2 separate regions of the Homo sapiens genome follow, and region 1 is linked to region 2. Evidence: promoter capture Hi-C in 16 types of primary human blood cells and fetal thymus (Javierre and others, 2016). All regions are on one chromosome and are shown on one strand. The core of a region is centred on a gene start or on the middle of the fragment in contact, and the rest is flanking DNA. Distances in the headings are between cores, read along the strand shown.

The links. The method cuts DNA at HindIII sites, captures the fragments that hold promoters and counts their contacts. A CHiCAGO score of 5 or more calls a contact.
Region 1: a contact is called between a fragment that was not itself captured here and the fragment with the promoter of KCNE3 in region 2, in 1 of 17 cell types (megakaryocytes). The highest score is 5.3, in megakaryocytes.

The regions. Positions count from the first base shown.
Region 1 is chr11:74,007,212-74,014,418 of GRCh38, reverse strand. C2CD3 (C2 domain containing 3 centriole elongation regulator) reads left to right here. Exons shown (of 33, transcript NM_001286577.2): 33 at 894-1,701. The coding sequence ends at 1,034. UCP3 (uncoupling protein 3) reads left to right here and starts at 5,334. Exons shown (of 7, transcript NM_003356.4): 1 at 5,334-5,441. RefSeq lists enhancers at 2,364-2,513, 5,086-5,725 and a silencer at 5,859-6,039. The HindIII fragment of the contact is 2,844 bases long and covers 1-2,809 here.
Region 2 is chr11:74,465,229-74,472,265 of GRCh38, reverse strand. KCNE3 (potassium voltage-gated channel subfamily E regulatory subunit 3) reads left to right here and starts at 4,717. Exons shown (of 3, transcript NM_005472.5): 1 at 4,717-4,868. The HindIII fragment of the contact is 7,698 bases long and covers 578-7,037 here.

The DNA.
Region 1 (7,207 bases), core at 138-2,637, 450 kb after region 2:
TCAATAGTCCTTCAGCTTATGACAGCCTCAGCTCATGGGACTTGATGACAGGGAAGAGCAAGCTGCATGCCATGAAGTCAGCCAGGTTTGCCTGTGGAGGCTGCTCCCATCTCCTTTCAGAACTGCCCCCTCCCCTATCAGGCCCCCACTTCTTCCCCAGGGCCTTGCTCTCAGCCAGCTGTCTGGGATGGCTTTCCTGTATAGCTTTGAGCTCCTTCAGCACAGGAGCCTGACATGGAGTAAGAAAAAAGAAAGAAAAATGAGTTAGAGGAGTCCAGAGGACCATGATACCATAGCCCACAGGTTTAAGTACCTTAAAGGCGGAATTAGTGATGCCCTGTCAGCCAGAGTCAGAGAGATCAAAGTTTGGTAGCCAAGCAGTAGGTAGGTGCTTTATGTCACCTGGCAACTCCAGGAGCTCCAAAGGGCCAAACAGAGAGTGTATTATTCACCGCCATCTCCCTGAGAGTTGGATATGTTCCCAGCATCACACATGGGACTAAACCCAGAGGACAAATGACTTGTCTAAAGCCATGCAACAGGAGAAGGGATGAGGATTCAAACCTATCCTGGAGGTGACGCTGCCTCCTTCTCCAGAGGCACAGAAAGAGTCAGGGCTGGGGTTCACGTCCCAGCTCTGCTACTCAGAGCTGTGGGACCTTGAGTTTATTCCACCTGAATGTAGTTTCCTTATCCACGACATGGGGAGAATGATATACCCCCCATATGGGGTTGAGGTAAGGGTCAAGCAAGATAAGGTACGTAAAGCGCTTTGTAAACCAGGCAGCTCTACATAAATATTAACCAAAGGACCAAAAGATGAGAGAAACCAGCGTCATCCATTGGTGGTGCCATATCCTCAGTGGTAACCTAGCTGACTTCTTCCTCTCCAGGACAAGAGCGAAGCCACCAGGGGAGCTCTCTCCCAAAGGCCTTGTCGCCCCAGACCTAACTCGCTCCCCCTCAACCTGCCTGAGGAAGAAACTCTCAGGATTGCACGGATATTTTCTTCTCAGTACTCCCAGAAAGACTGACGCAGCCTGAGGGGCTGGGGGGAAGGAGACACCTGCCCACCCTCCGTCAGCTTTGTCCAGCTTGCAGGAGGCACCAGGTCTGGCTCCTTCAGGGCTGTCACAGTCCTGAAACCACCACTTGCCTAGGCCACGGATGCCTCAAGAGACCCGGTCAGCCCAGACTGGAGGAGTGCCCCAAACCAGTCCAGTGTCCACTTGCCAGAATTTCAGCTCCTTTTTTCTGTGGTGAGGCAAAGGCTAGAAATAAAATGGAATCCGCGCCCAAGTGGGACCCAAGCAGGCATCTTTCGGTGGAGAAACGCCCCCCAGTGTCCTTGACACAGCTGACTGCTGGCATGAGCCCACCCTCTGCCTGAAGATGCAGGACCATTTTTGCCTTAAAAGTTGGGGAGGAGGGACATGTAGATTGTGTGCATTGTGCATAGTCAAGGAAATCCTAGGGCCACCTCCAGTTCATTTGTGTGGGAACAAGGATATTTTATAGATACAAATTATTTTTATGCTGTGTTGAATTAATCAATTAGGAGAGGAAGGGGAAATCACTTCCTTCAAACTTTTTATCTGATTGTCTAAAATTCTAACCATGCTTTTAACTTATTATTTTTACCCAGCTCTGAAGGTCATTGTTCTTGCCTGTGTTTGAATAAAATCATATTGGTGTTTGTAATCTGTGCACAAGTGTTTCGCTGGAGTGGGGATGCTAGGAATTCGTGTGTGCCCTAACTGCCAGAGAGAAAGATTAACAACCATACACCCCACGCAGACGAAGATCAATCACCATGAGACTTCTGGCTCCTCCAGAATCAGGTTGGTCCAGATGACAGTGACACCCAGTATTTCCTTTGCTGATGCTTGAAATCCATCAGACAAAGCCCCGTGGGGAGGACAAGAAAAGGGCCATGGATGGGTGCAGTGGCTCACACCTGTAATCCAAACACTTTGGGAAGCCGAGGCAGGCAGATCACCTGAGGTCAGGAGTTTGAGACTACCCTGGCCAACCTGGCAAAACCCCGTCTCTACTAAAAAAAAAAAAAATACAAAAATTAGCTGGGCGTGGTGCACGCCTGTAGTCCTAGCTACTCAGGAGGCTGAGGCAGGAGAATCACTTGAACCCAAGAGGTGGAGGTTGCAGTGAACCGAGACCACGCCACTGCACTCCAGCCTGGACAACAGAGCAAGACTCCGTATCACAAAAAAAAAAAAAAAAAATGGGGTCGCGGGAGCCAAATGTGCAGAGTGAGCAGTGTGGCTGGGCAACAGGCTTTCACCCCCAAGTACATGTCACTTCACTCAGTCCTCAAAACAGCTCTCTAACTCTAGATATTATGATATCTAGAGTTTCTGTAAGTTCAGTGTTTTGCCTCTGTTTGTGTAGTTAGGAAGTGATTAACCACACAAGAAATCCCAGAGGTATTGCAAGGCTACTGCTTTCAGTAATCAAAACAAGGTACAGCCAATAAGTGCTCTGAATTTAGGGACTTCATGGAGAAAGACCATGTGGGCTGGGGCAGTCAGGGAAGGCTTCCTAGAAGAGACAGGTCTTGGGGTGAGCACAGAGAATTGGCCCAGGCTGTGGACAGCTATAGAGAGAGAGCCAGGAAAGCCTGTGAGCAGTGTGCAGCTGGAGATAGAGACCAGTCTCACTGCGTCTGAGCCTCTGTGGCCTCGTCTGTAAAACAGAGATAATCACCCCAGCTTCATGGGGTTGTGAGGAAGATCAAATGAGATGACATTTGTGAAAGTGCTTCGCCTACTTTTGGCACATGGTGGAAGCTTAGGAAATGTCAGCCCCACCCACTCTCCTGACTTTCGGGAGCAAACCAGTAGAGAGGCAAGCATGCAGCCACTGGGGCAGGCAGAGCACTCCTGGGCCTCAGAGGGTGCAAAATGATGCGGGAACCTCAAGGAAGGAGTGGGTGCTGCCTTCTTGGTGACAAGCCCTCCCGCTTCTATTTATCTCTGCTCCGACGCCTGCCAGCCCACCCCTCCCCAGCACCACAGAGGCCAGCCTCCCTCTCAAGTCACCAGCACAGAGCATTCAAGGCCCAGGGCCCCACTTCCCTTGGGGCCCAGGGGACCTAAAGAGGGGCAGTCAGGGCCCAGGCCTGAGGGGGAAAGCCCCAGGTAAAGAATATTCCTCCAAATCCCACTCCAGCTCCCGCAGACAACCTGATCGGGGTCAGGAGGACACACTCCTACCCCAGGCTGAGAGCAGCCTCTGATAACACAAAAGGACCCTGAGGGTGGAGACCTCCCACCTCCACTTCAAAACAGTGTGTTATTTATCAATATCTTATCCCCGGAAGTTGAATCTATCTCCCAGTGCCAACTCCGAGATAAATGACTTGACCAGGCGTGTGGCATGGATTAAGGCATGAGATAGGTGTTCCCACCACCAGAACGAGCCAGTGGCTGCCTCTCTTCCCTTTGAGCCCTCCCTCCACAGAGACCTGTGAATAGGTGTTTCTGATCCCTAGGCTGGTTGCATCCCAACCCAGAGCAGGCAGCCTTCGGACTTCTAGCATGGGCTGGCCTCAGGACATGGAGCCAAAGCAGGCAGACCTGGCCCTGCCCTCAAGCTCCCAAGCTAAAGAGAGCCTGGCCCTCCCTCCCACTAGGTTTCTCCAGAGCCTGCTGCCTCCTGGTTTGGGCTTCTACTCTATTCTTCCCCCACAGACTCCCTGCAATTTACTGCATCACCTCTAGACTAGCAATTACAGATGGAGCTCAGAACCTACTTCCTGAGCCTTCCTAATCTCAGCAGCCCTGACAGCCACTTCCCTCTTAACACTAATGCAGCTGCTTATTCTGCTGACATTAAGGTCAGGGCCTGGTCCAAGGAAGAGGACAGGTACAGCCCAAGCTTTGCACTTGAACATCCATGCTTCTGACCACCTGCCCTGTGACGCTGGCTCTGTGCCCCAGTCCAGAAAAGACTTCTGCCTACTCCTCCTCTGCCCTACCCAGTTAACTCCCTTTCCTTCCCTCCCTTCTGCTTCTCACTCCTCCCCTCCCTTCTCTTCTTCTTCTCCCCTTCCCCCATCACCTGGGGCCCGATTCAGCTGTGCCCAGCCCTTACTCTGAGTGCCCACAGATGGAGCCTCCAGTAGCTTCTGTGGGGCACCCTTCCACCAGGTCCCAGCTCCCTTGGCTCCAGCAGTGTCCATGCTAAAGCCTCCAAGTGTCATGTTGGAGAGAATGGTGGTCACAGTAGATAAGCCCAAAATGCCTTACAGTTTACAGGCTGGAGTCAGGCCCCGCCACGTGCTGGCTACATGACTTCCCTGAGATTCCATTTCCTCCTCAGTAAAATAAGTGGTAAGATTTTAGGATCCCCAGCACTAAAAAGAAACGAAATACTGATACAGGCTCCAACATGGATGAATTTTGAAAGCATTACTATACTAAGTGAAAGAAGCCAGTCACAAACAAGCACATATTGGATGATTCCATTTCTAGGAAGTGTTCAGAACAGGCAAATTTATAGAGACAGAAAGTAGATTGATTAGTGGTTGCCTGAGGCTGGGGAGCGGGGGAAGGGAGGTGACTACCAATGTGTATGGAGTTTTTCCAGGGTGAGAGGGTGATGAAAATGTTCTAAAATAGATTGTGTTGATGGTTGTGCCACTCAGAATATACTAAAAACCATTTGAATTGTGCACTTGAAACAGATGAATTGTACGGTATGTGAATTCTATATCAATAAATCTGTAATTTAAAAAAAAAAAATTAGGTCGGGTGCAGTGGCTCACACCTATAATCCCAGCACTTTGCCAGACTGAGGCAGGAGGATCACTTAAGCCCAGGAGTTCAAGACCAGCCTGGGGAACACAGCAAGACCTCGTCTCTACTAAAAAATTTTAAATTACAAAAAAAAAAAGTAAAAAAAATAGAATCCTAATAGTACCTATCTCATAGGATTGTGGAAAATAGTAGTAATGTATGTAAAATATTTAGCACATAGTAGGCACAAAGAAATGACATTATTATTAAGAGACCTGGGAGAGCTGTGCCCAGCCTATCGTGGGAGGCCTTGACCTTTGGACTCAAAAGTGGCAGCAGGTCCACCCCCCCATACACCCTTGTCACCAAGGAAGCGTCCACAGCTTAAAGGAGCTATATTAAAGCACCCCAAGTCAAGAGGACTGAACCAGATCTGGAACTCACTCACCTCCCCTCTCACCTCACTGCCCTCACCAGCCAGCCTCTTGTCAAGTGATCAGGCTGTCAACCAACTTCTCTAGGATAAGGTTTCAGGTCAGCCCGTGTGTATAAGACCAGTGCCAAGCCAGAAGCAGCAGAGACAACAGTGAATGACAAGGAGGGGCCATCCAATCCCTGCTGCCACCTCCTGGGATGGAGCCCTAGGGAGCCCCTGTGCTGCCCCTGCCGTGGCAGGACTCACAGGTAAGACCCCTTTCTCCTCCCTCATCCCTTCCCCTCTCCCTCTCCCTTCTCCTTGTTCTCCCTTTCATTGGAGGCTTTCAGAGAGCAGCCCCGAGCAGTCAGGGCTCACTAGCTGCAGCTTGTCAGACCTGATAGAGATTCAGTCCAGCCGCCACCTTATGAAAAGGGAGCTGTGGCCTTGATGAGGGTACTGTGGCAGGGCTGGGGCTTGAACCCAACACCCGTGTCACTCACTCAAGACTCACACCCCCTTTGCCTTGCTGGCTGCCTCTGGTGGGATTTTGCAAATCCCCATAGACAGGAAGTGGCTTTCTTCTTTGCCTGCCCCAGAATCTCTGCGATTCCTCCAGAGCATAAATCCCTCTCTTTCCATGAGGACCCTGGGGCCCTCTTCCTGAGTAGGGATGACAGGGGCACTTCTGACCTGAGGCGTGGTCCAGGTCATTTGCTGGGAGCTTTACAGAGCCCATGGTCTCTGCCCAGACGGCTTCTTCAGTGGGCTGCTGTGAAGGCTTTGCCGGGAGGGTGGGTTGGAGTTGGGGAGGCAACTGGTGTTGGGTAGGATGTCTCAAAATGGGGTCCTCTTCCCCTGCTTCAGAGCTACCACAGGGAGTTTTCCTAATGCAGATTCCTAGGCCCCACCCCAGACCTAAATCAGGATCTCTGGGGCTGAGAGCTGAGAATCTGCTCTGTAAACAAGCAGCTCAAGGGATCCTTGGCTCTCCCTGAAGTCTGAGACTCTCTGGGCAGTGAAACAGGCGCAGCTTCAGATGTCAGACAAACGTGGGCACCAATCTCAGCTCCAGCACTTCAGCTGTATGACTAGCAAAAGCCCTGGAAGCCTCAGGTCCCTGGTTTACGAAATGAGAATAATAATAGCAACTACTTGTAGCCTTATGAAGGGATCAAATCAGTCAGTGTCTGTAAAGCCCTCAGCACGGTATCTGGTGCAAGAAGCAACCAGCAAACATTAATGGACCATGCTGACTAGAACATCCCATCCCTCAGGAGCCCCAGCAGAGCTACAGTAATGAGGGTTCCACTTTTGACTTCTTCCTCCACTGGCCAGTGGCAAAAGGCTGCCGGCTGCTAGGGGTCTAGGAGAGTCTGGAGTGAATTGGGAAGAAGATTGGGGAGTGCTGGCCTCAAGGCACCTCCTACCTGTGCCCACCACTGTGGCTTTCCCTCCTCCCGCAGCTTGACTACTGAAAGTTCTAGAGCCCCAAGGTGGGCTTTTGACCTGAGTCTGTGTCCATCCATTCCATTTTCCATGAGTGGCTAAGAACTGCCCCTCTTGTCAAGTGATCACGCTGAGGCCAAGAGTTCAAGACCAGAATAGGCAACATAGAGAGACCCCCATCTCTACAAAAAATAAAAAATTAGCTGGGTATGGTGATGCACACCTGTAGTCCCAGCTACTCGGGAGGCTGAAGGTGGGAGGGTCACTTGAGTCCAAGAGGTCAAGGCTGCAGTGAGCCTGGATTGCACCACTGCACTCCAGCCCAGGTAACAGAGTGAGACCCTGTCTCAAAAAAAAAAAGGAGGCAGTTTGATATTGGGGAGAACAGATGCCTGAGCCTCGGTTTCCTCATGTATACAGTGCAGGTACCACTATCAGCTCTGCCTACCCCTGGTAAGGAGGGGAGGGAGAGGGTCAGGAGGAGGATTGCAAAATTCAAGGGATAGGAACGTGACCTGTTTTTATAGGCCAAATTCATGCAGCTTAAGTATGGCACCACCCAGGCTTCTCCCTTTCTAAAGCCCCT
Region 2 (7,037 bases), core at 3,468-5,967:
CACGGGCTCCTCATGAATAATAGAATAAAGTAACTTGATGTGACTGTGAAACTTCCTCTGTGAGTCACACTGCATTTCCCCCTGGTGACCCAGTCTTCTGAAACTGTTGACAGGTACCATCCACACTCACCCTACCTCTCAACATTTTCCCCCCACTTCCTAGACCTTAAGTTAGGAACATCAAATATATCAGAGTCATCTGGTTAGGCGTTACTGAAAAATCAAGATGTAACTCAAGGGATACCAAGGTGGAAAAGAAACAACTGGTCTCTGTTCTCATAGCGCTTCCAGTCCAATGGGAAAGGCAGGCCCCAAACAGATAAACAGAAGATTGGGTTGAGTTCTATGAAGAAAACAAACAGGGAACTGGATGGATGATGGTGCCATTGACTGAGACATAGGAAAGTGAAAGGGAAAGAAGTCAAGAGTCCCAGTCCCCACATTATCCAAACAGAGACATCAGGGAGGTTGTTGGATATGGGAGTTCGATGCTCAGAGGAAAGGTTTGGCCCAGAGGTTGAAAAAGTCTCCTACTGACCTTTGAGGCTCTCTCAGGTTCTATCTCTTCTTGGAAGCTTTCTCTGATAACATAATTCCTAGGGATCTTCCCTCTCATGACCATTATTCACTCACTCATATATTCAACAAATTTTTACTAAGATCTCCTCTGTGCTAGGCTTGGTGCTGGGAATGGCTTAGTGCCCTCAATGAATTTATGTTCTAGGTGTGGAGTCAACCAATAGAGGAGACAATTGTAACACAGAATGGTAAGTGCTGTGTGAGAGGAAAGCCCGAGGGGCTGTAGGAGCAGAGAAAGTGGGCTTCTGTGCCAGCCAGGTCCTTCAGGAAGAAGATGGCCATCTCATATGGATAATTCAAGAAGGCTCTATTCAGAGATGGGCAGGGAGTGGGGAAACCACAGGGGTTGTGAGGTATCCTGGAGCTGAAAGCACCTGGGCATCACTACCACCCCTAGGACTGAAGAGGAAAGAGAAGGAGGTGGTTACAGGAATCCAGACTCAGGGAGAGCTCTAAGATAGGGCTGAGGGCAGCGGGAGCTGTGGGCCTCAGTTGAAGATGCAGCAAGAACAACAACAAAAGACTTTTTTTTTTAAGTAAGTGAAATATATCAGAATCATCTGTTAAGGTGTTACTGAAAAACAAGGCAGGGGATGGAGGTAGGGAGGCAGGAGAAGGGAGGAATTAGCATTTATAGATTGGATGCTCAGGGAAGGCCTCACCAAGAAGGTAACATTTAAGCCAAGACTTGTTTGTGGCATGTCTCTAGGTGAGTCTTCCCCTCATCCCTTCAATCAGCTCATCCTACCCTCAAATTCCATCCACCCCACTCCCCCATCTTCCCAGGGTCAGGGCCATGTCTCCAATGTCTTTGGATTAGGGAGCTCCTTGAAGTCCCTGTCAGACTAGAGATCCCCAGAGACAGGAACTCTGTTTCCTCCTGCTCTTTCTCATCCAGTGACAATAGAAGCTGCCATTTATTAAGCCTATGCCTCATGCTAGGCCCGGCTCCAGGCATATTAAACGCATCACTTCATCTAAGCCTGCTGGCAAGGCTCCAGGGCACAGGTGGGGAACATGAGGCAGCTCAGCCCCCTTTCCAATGGCCAGCTGCCTTCCCTGACATGGTTGCTGCCTTATCCTCACCCCAGAGAAGGGGGAGTAGAGGATAGACCTTAAATTCTTTTTTTTTTTTTCTTTGAGACAGAGTCTTGCTCTGTCACCCAGGCTGGAGTGCAGTGGCGCAATCTCAGCTCACTGCAACCTCTGCCTCCCAGGTTCAGGCGATTCTTCTGCCTCAGCTTCCCAAGTAGCTGGGATTACAGGTGCATGCCACCACACCCAGCTAATTTTTTTTTTTTAATCTTTAGTAGAGACGGAGTTTCACCATATTGAGCAAGCTGGTCTTGAACTCCTGACGTCGTGATCCGCCACCTCCCAAAGTGCTGGGATTACAGACGTGAGTCACCACGCCCAGCAAATTTTTTTTTTCTTGAGATAGGGTCTCACTTTGTTGTCTAGGCTGTAGTGAGTGCAGTGGCACAATCTTGGCTCACTGCAGCCTCAACCTCCTGGGCTCAAGCAATCCTCCCACCTCAGCCTCTCAAGTAGCTGGTACTACAGGCACATAGCATCATGCCCAACTAATTTTTTTATTTTTTGTAGAAATGAAGTCCCACTATGTTATCCAGGTTGGTCTTGAACTCCTGAGCTCAAGTGATCCACCCACCTCAGCCTCCCAAAGTGTTGGGATTACAGGCATGAGCCACTGCTCCTGGCCGACCTTAAATTCTTGAAAGACTGTAAAAGGGAACACAGATCAGACTTCTATTTCATGTCTCCAATGGGTGCAAGGACCAAAGGGTAGAAGTCAACAGGAAGCAGTTTTTGTTAAAATGTGAGAACATCCTAACAATCAGAGCTGTCTGGCTGCCTTGCAGGCATTGAGCTCCCTAGAGGTGTGCAAGAGAAGCTGGATAGCCTCATTTCAAAAATGAAATAGAGGCAGAGTGTGGTGGCTCACACCTGTAATCCCAACACTTCGGGAGGCCAAGGCGGGCAGATTACTTGAGGTCAAGTGTTCGAGACCAGCCTGGCTAACATGGCAAAACCCCGTCTCTACTAAAAATACAAAAATTAGCTGGGTGTGGTGGTACACCTGTAATTCCAGCTACTCAGGAGGCTGAGGCACAAGAATTGTTTGAACCTGGGAGGCAGAGTTTGCAGTAAGCTGAGATCACACCACTGCACTCCAGCCTGGGTGATATGTTTCCAAAAATAAAGAAATGGGAGAATCTGTTAGGCTCATGAGGGATTTGACTAGGAAACTCTTGAGAGTTCTTCCAATTTACATTCCAGAACCCTAAGATGATATGATTCTAAGACTTTGGTTCTAAGATTTTATTAGAACAAAAGACAATCCCTATCTTCAAAGAACTCACAACCTAGCAGATGGGGTGGACAAATGGTTACTTTCTATAACTGTCATAGACAGTCCTACAGAGTAAATGCAAGGCCGTGGGCAGGATCTGAGAAAGAACCCTGACCAAGCCAGGACTGCTTCCTCATGGCTAGTCTCAAGAACCATTTGCATCAGAGTCATTTGGAAATCTTGTTTGAAAATGCTGATTTCTAGGCTCTACTCCAGATTTCCTGAATTAGAACCTCTGGAGTGGAGCCCAAAAGTCTACTTAGTAAAACAAGCTCCCCAGGGGATTCTTAGGCAGATTGAAAACTGAGGTTGCAGGATGGGCACAGTGGTTCATGCCTGTAATCCCAGAACTTTGGGAGGTGGAGGTGTGCAGGTCACTTGAGCCCAGGAGTTCGAGATCAGCCTGGGCAACATGGAGTAACCCAATTTCTATAAAATACAAAAATTAGCCAGACATAGTGGTGTGTCCCAGTTACTCAGGAGGTTAAGGGAGGAGGATCACCTGAGCCCAGGAGTTCAAGGCTGCTGTGAGCCATAATCACTCCACTGCACTCCAGCCTGGGTGACACAGTGAGATCCTGTCTAAAGGAAGGAAGGAAGGAAGGAAGGAAGGAAGGAAGGAAGAAAGAAAGGAAGGAAGGAAGGAAACTGAGATTGCATGCTTAGGTGATTAGGATGACTTTTCTGAGAGGTGATCTCCAGACTGAGAAAAAGGAATAGTAGGGTCAAAACAAGGTGGGTACAATATACCCACCTTGTATATTGTATACAATATACAATATACCCACCTTGTAGTAGGTCTTTTTAAAACGATAGCACTTCTTAGATATATTCTGGGATTCTGTAATTGAGAGTATGTGCTTCAGATATCCTGGAGCAGACCTTTGCAAGGGAGTGAAAGAGCTGGCCTGAGGCTGTTATTAATTATTCTGAGGCAGTGAGCTGGTAAAAGGGCACCCCACAGGGTCCCCCGGAGAAATTCTCTGCAACTGTCCCTTCCTCTGCCACTAGCCTCCTGGCTCTTATTCCTCAGCTGCCCCGGCTGCCCCAGTTCTCTGAAGCCTGCAATGTCACCAGCAAGGAAACAACAGTTTGAGTGAGGGCATGGTGGTGGGAAAATAAACTGTTCTGGGACAGAGATGAGTAAGGTGCGGCTGAACACAAGTTGGTCAGGCACTGTCACGAACTTTTGAGGCTTGGTGGAGGAAACATTTGCTGGTGCTACTCAGAGACAGAGGGGTGTGTAGTGGATTTTGGGTCTGGGCTCTGCTACCTGGGCAAATCCCTTCTCCAACTGGGCCTCTGCGTCCTGTGTGGAAAAGAGTTTGTGTAAGAATCATATTATTTTGCTGTTGACCCTTTGGTTTTAATACTTTGGACTCAAAGGTCTCATCTGACCTCAACCATAAGCCTGTGAAGAATGCATGGAGGAACTGTACCAACTTTACAGCCAGGCCAAGGCCCAGTGAGGGGCAGCGACTCGCCCACCACCACACAGCCACACTGGAGCAAAACCGACTCCTGGAGATCGGCCTCATGCTGGGCTTGCTGAGGCCCAGCGGAGCGAGAGGCTTTCGGTCTCTGGTCCAGGAAGCAGGCGCTGCAGGGGACGGAAGGGTCGGAGCCCACAGCCGGGGGAGGCCAAGGAGCTGGGCGGAGGCACTCCAGGCCAGCCCGGGGAGAAGTGGGTGTGCTGGGGCCCGGGCGGGGCAGGGGGAGGGGACGCCCGGGGGAGGGAAAAGGGAGCCGAGCGCGGGTGGGAGCCCAGAGCCAGAGAGCGCGCTGGGCGGTGCTGGGCACCCGCGGAGTGGAACGGGGCTGGTGGAATGCACAGGGTCGCAGCGCTTGGGCCACCCTCGGTCAGAGGGCGCCGTGTCCAGCGAGCAAACGGGCGCCCCGGAGCCTTGCTGAGAGGCAGGTAAGGCACCCACCCAGCTGGGAAGGCTGAGCTGCGGCCTGGGGTGGAAATGAGGGGTCTTCCCGCCTCCCTTCCAAGGGCCACGGCGCGCTCTCCGTGAGACTGTGGAACCGAGGGGGAGTGGGGGAGGGGTGGGCGCTGCAAATACCAAGCTAGTCCTCCCGGATCCTCCCCGATCCTCCCGAGCGCAGTGATCGTGGAGCAGCATGTGGGAGTAGGGAGCTGGGCTCTGCGCGCCCCGTCTGGAAACCGTGGGGACTTGCGCCGTTATTCCCAGCCCTCAAGACGGCCACAAGAAAAGTTCCTCCACACCCACAGACGTGCAAGCGAACACTTGCAGCTGGCAGCCAGTGCACACGCAGAAACGACATTTCAGGACCCAGCACAGTCTCATTTGGCTGGAGCCACCGGCTCTGCGGAGCTGACTTGCCCATTCCCTCTACACCTCACTGTGTCCTTCACCCTGTCTGACCTAGTCCCGGGAAACCTGGTGACTCCCAAAAGCATCTTCTGCTGCCAGTAACATAGGTCGAGGCTGGGAGTCGGGAGACTTGAGTTCTAGTTTACAGGCTGTGTAAACCCGGGCAGTCATCCCTCAGCTCTGCGCCTTGTGCTCGCTTTTCCTGGGCCACCATTTGTAAAACGGGCCTCCTGCTCCTGTTGCCTGCATACCCCATGGGACAGAAGGGGAAAGGGGGATTGGACCTCAGAGTCTCTTATCTCGAAAATAAATGAGTTTAGTTCTTGCGTGAAAGCCCACCAGAGTATCCCTCCTAAAATCCTCTCCACTAATTTGCATATAGGGAAACTGATGCCCCAGGGGAGATGATTTACCTAAGGTTACAACAGAGACCAAACAGAATTAGAACCCAAGTTTCCTCAGTCCTAGCCCAGGGCTCTCTCCACTTCACCTACAAAGGCATGTTGTAAACGTGTGAGCTCCTCCTTATTTCCTTGCATCCGTCCACTTTGTCTGTTCCTGATGGAGGAAGACCCATGCTGGGGGCCTAGAAGCTGCTTTCAGATTTTCTTGACTCCTTGAGATGATAACCATCACCTTCTCCATCCCTCACTCAGTCTATACGTCTCAAAGCACATCCATAAACTTAATGTGCGAGTGCTCAAAATACCTTCTAAGAGGGAAGCAAGACAAGAAACTCCATCTTACTGATGAGGAAAATGAGGCCTAGAGGGATATAGACTTAGAGTGATAAAGTTACTTAACCAAAACGCACGGCTAGACGTGTTGGCCTAGTAGGGGCAGGAACCCAGGTCTCCTGATTCCCCCTCTGATGTGTTCTCCACCAGCTACAGGACTACAGAATGGTACCCCTCAATGATAAGGGACTGCGGGAATGATCATAGAGGGTAGGAAACAGGAAGGCTTCTGGAGAAGGTGAGGTTCCTGGGAATCAAGAAGAATAATAAGAACCTCCTGGCTGCTTCTGAGGCTAGGAGACCTGGAGTGGGAAAGGAGACACAGAGATGGTTGTTCTTGGTAATATGGGGGGAAAGGAAAGATGTGGAGACAGAAAAGGAAAACAGTGTGACCAGCCTGCCTGATAATTATCTTGTATGTTTGCAATTTCTAAAACATTCCCATCTCTTGTCTCCTCTAGTTCTCATGTGTGGTAGGCAGGGCAGGGATCATTATCCCCATCTTATAGATGAGGTTCAGAGGAAGTAAATGCAGTGCTCAAGGACACAGAGCCAAGCATACAGCCAAGATTAGAATCATGAAAGGAACACTTGAACGGCAAGATCACAGGCTGAGGGACTGGGGAGTTGGACTGTGTGTGTGTGTGCAGTGGGTGGGTGTATGTGGCCACACCCTGGGTAGGTACACAGGGAAGAGGGTTGCAAAGCCATTGCTGGTGTTTTGAGGCCAAGAATGTTTGCCCTTTGGATTGAATGGGGTCCAGGTGCAGGGAGCATCTGGGCTTCCAAAGAAGGCTTAGAATTCTTCCTCCTCTGACTCACCCCACCTGACTGAGATGGCTTCTTTTCTTTGAGCCATCCCTTCCCCAGACCAAATGAAATCTGTTTTGCCCTGCCCTGGAGGTTGCTTTTTAAATATTGTAAACTGTTTTCATGAATGTATGTGCGTGTGCCAGAGCGGGGGAATGCTCTTAGAGAAGAGGCATTGATTCATTTATTCTTGAATGCCTG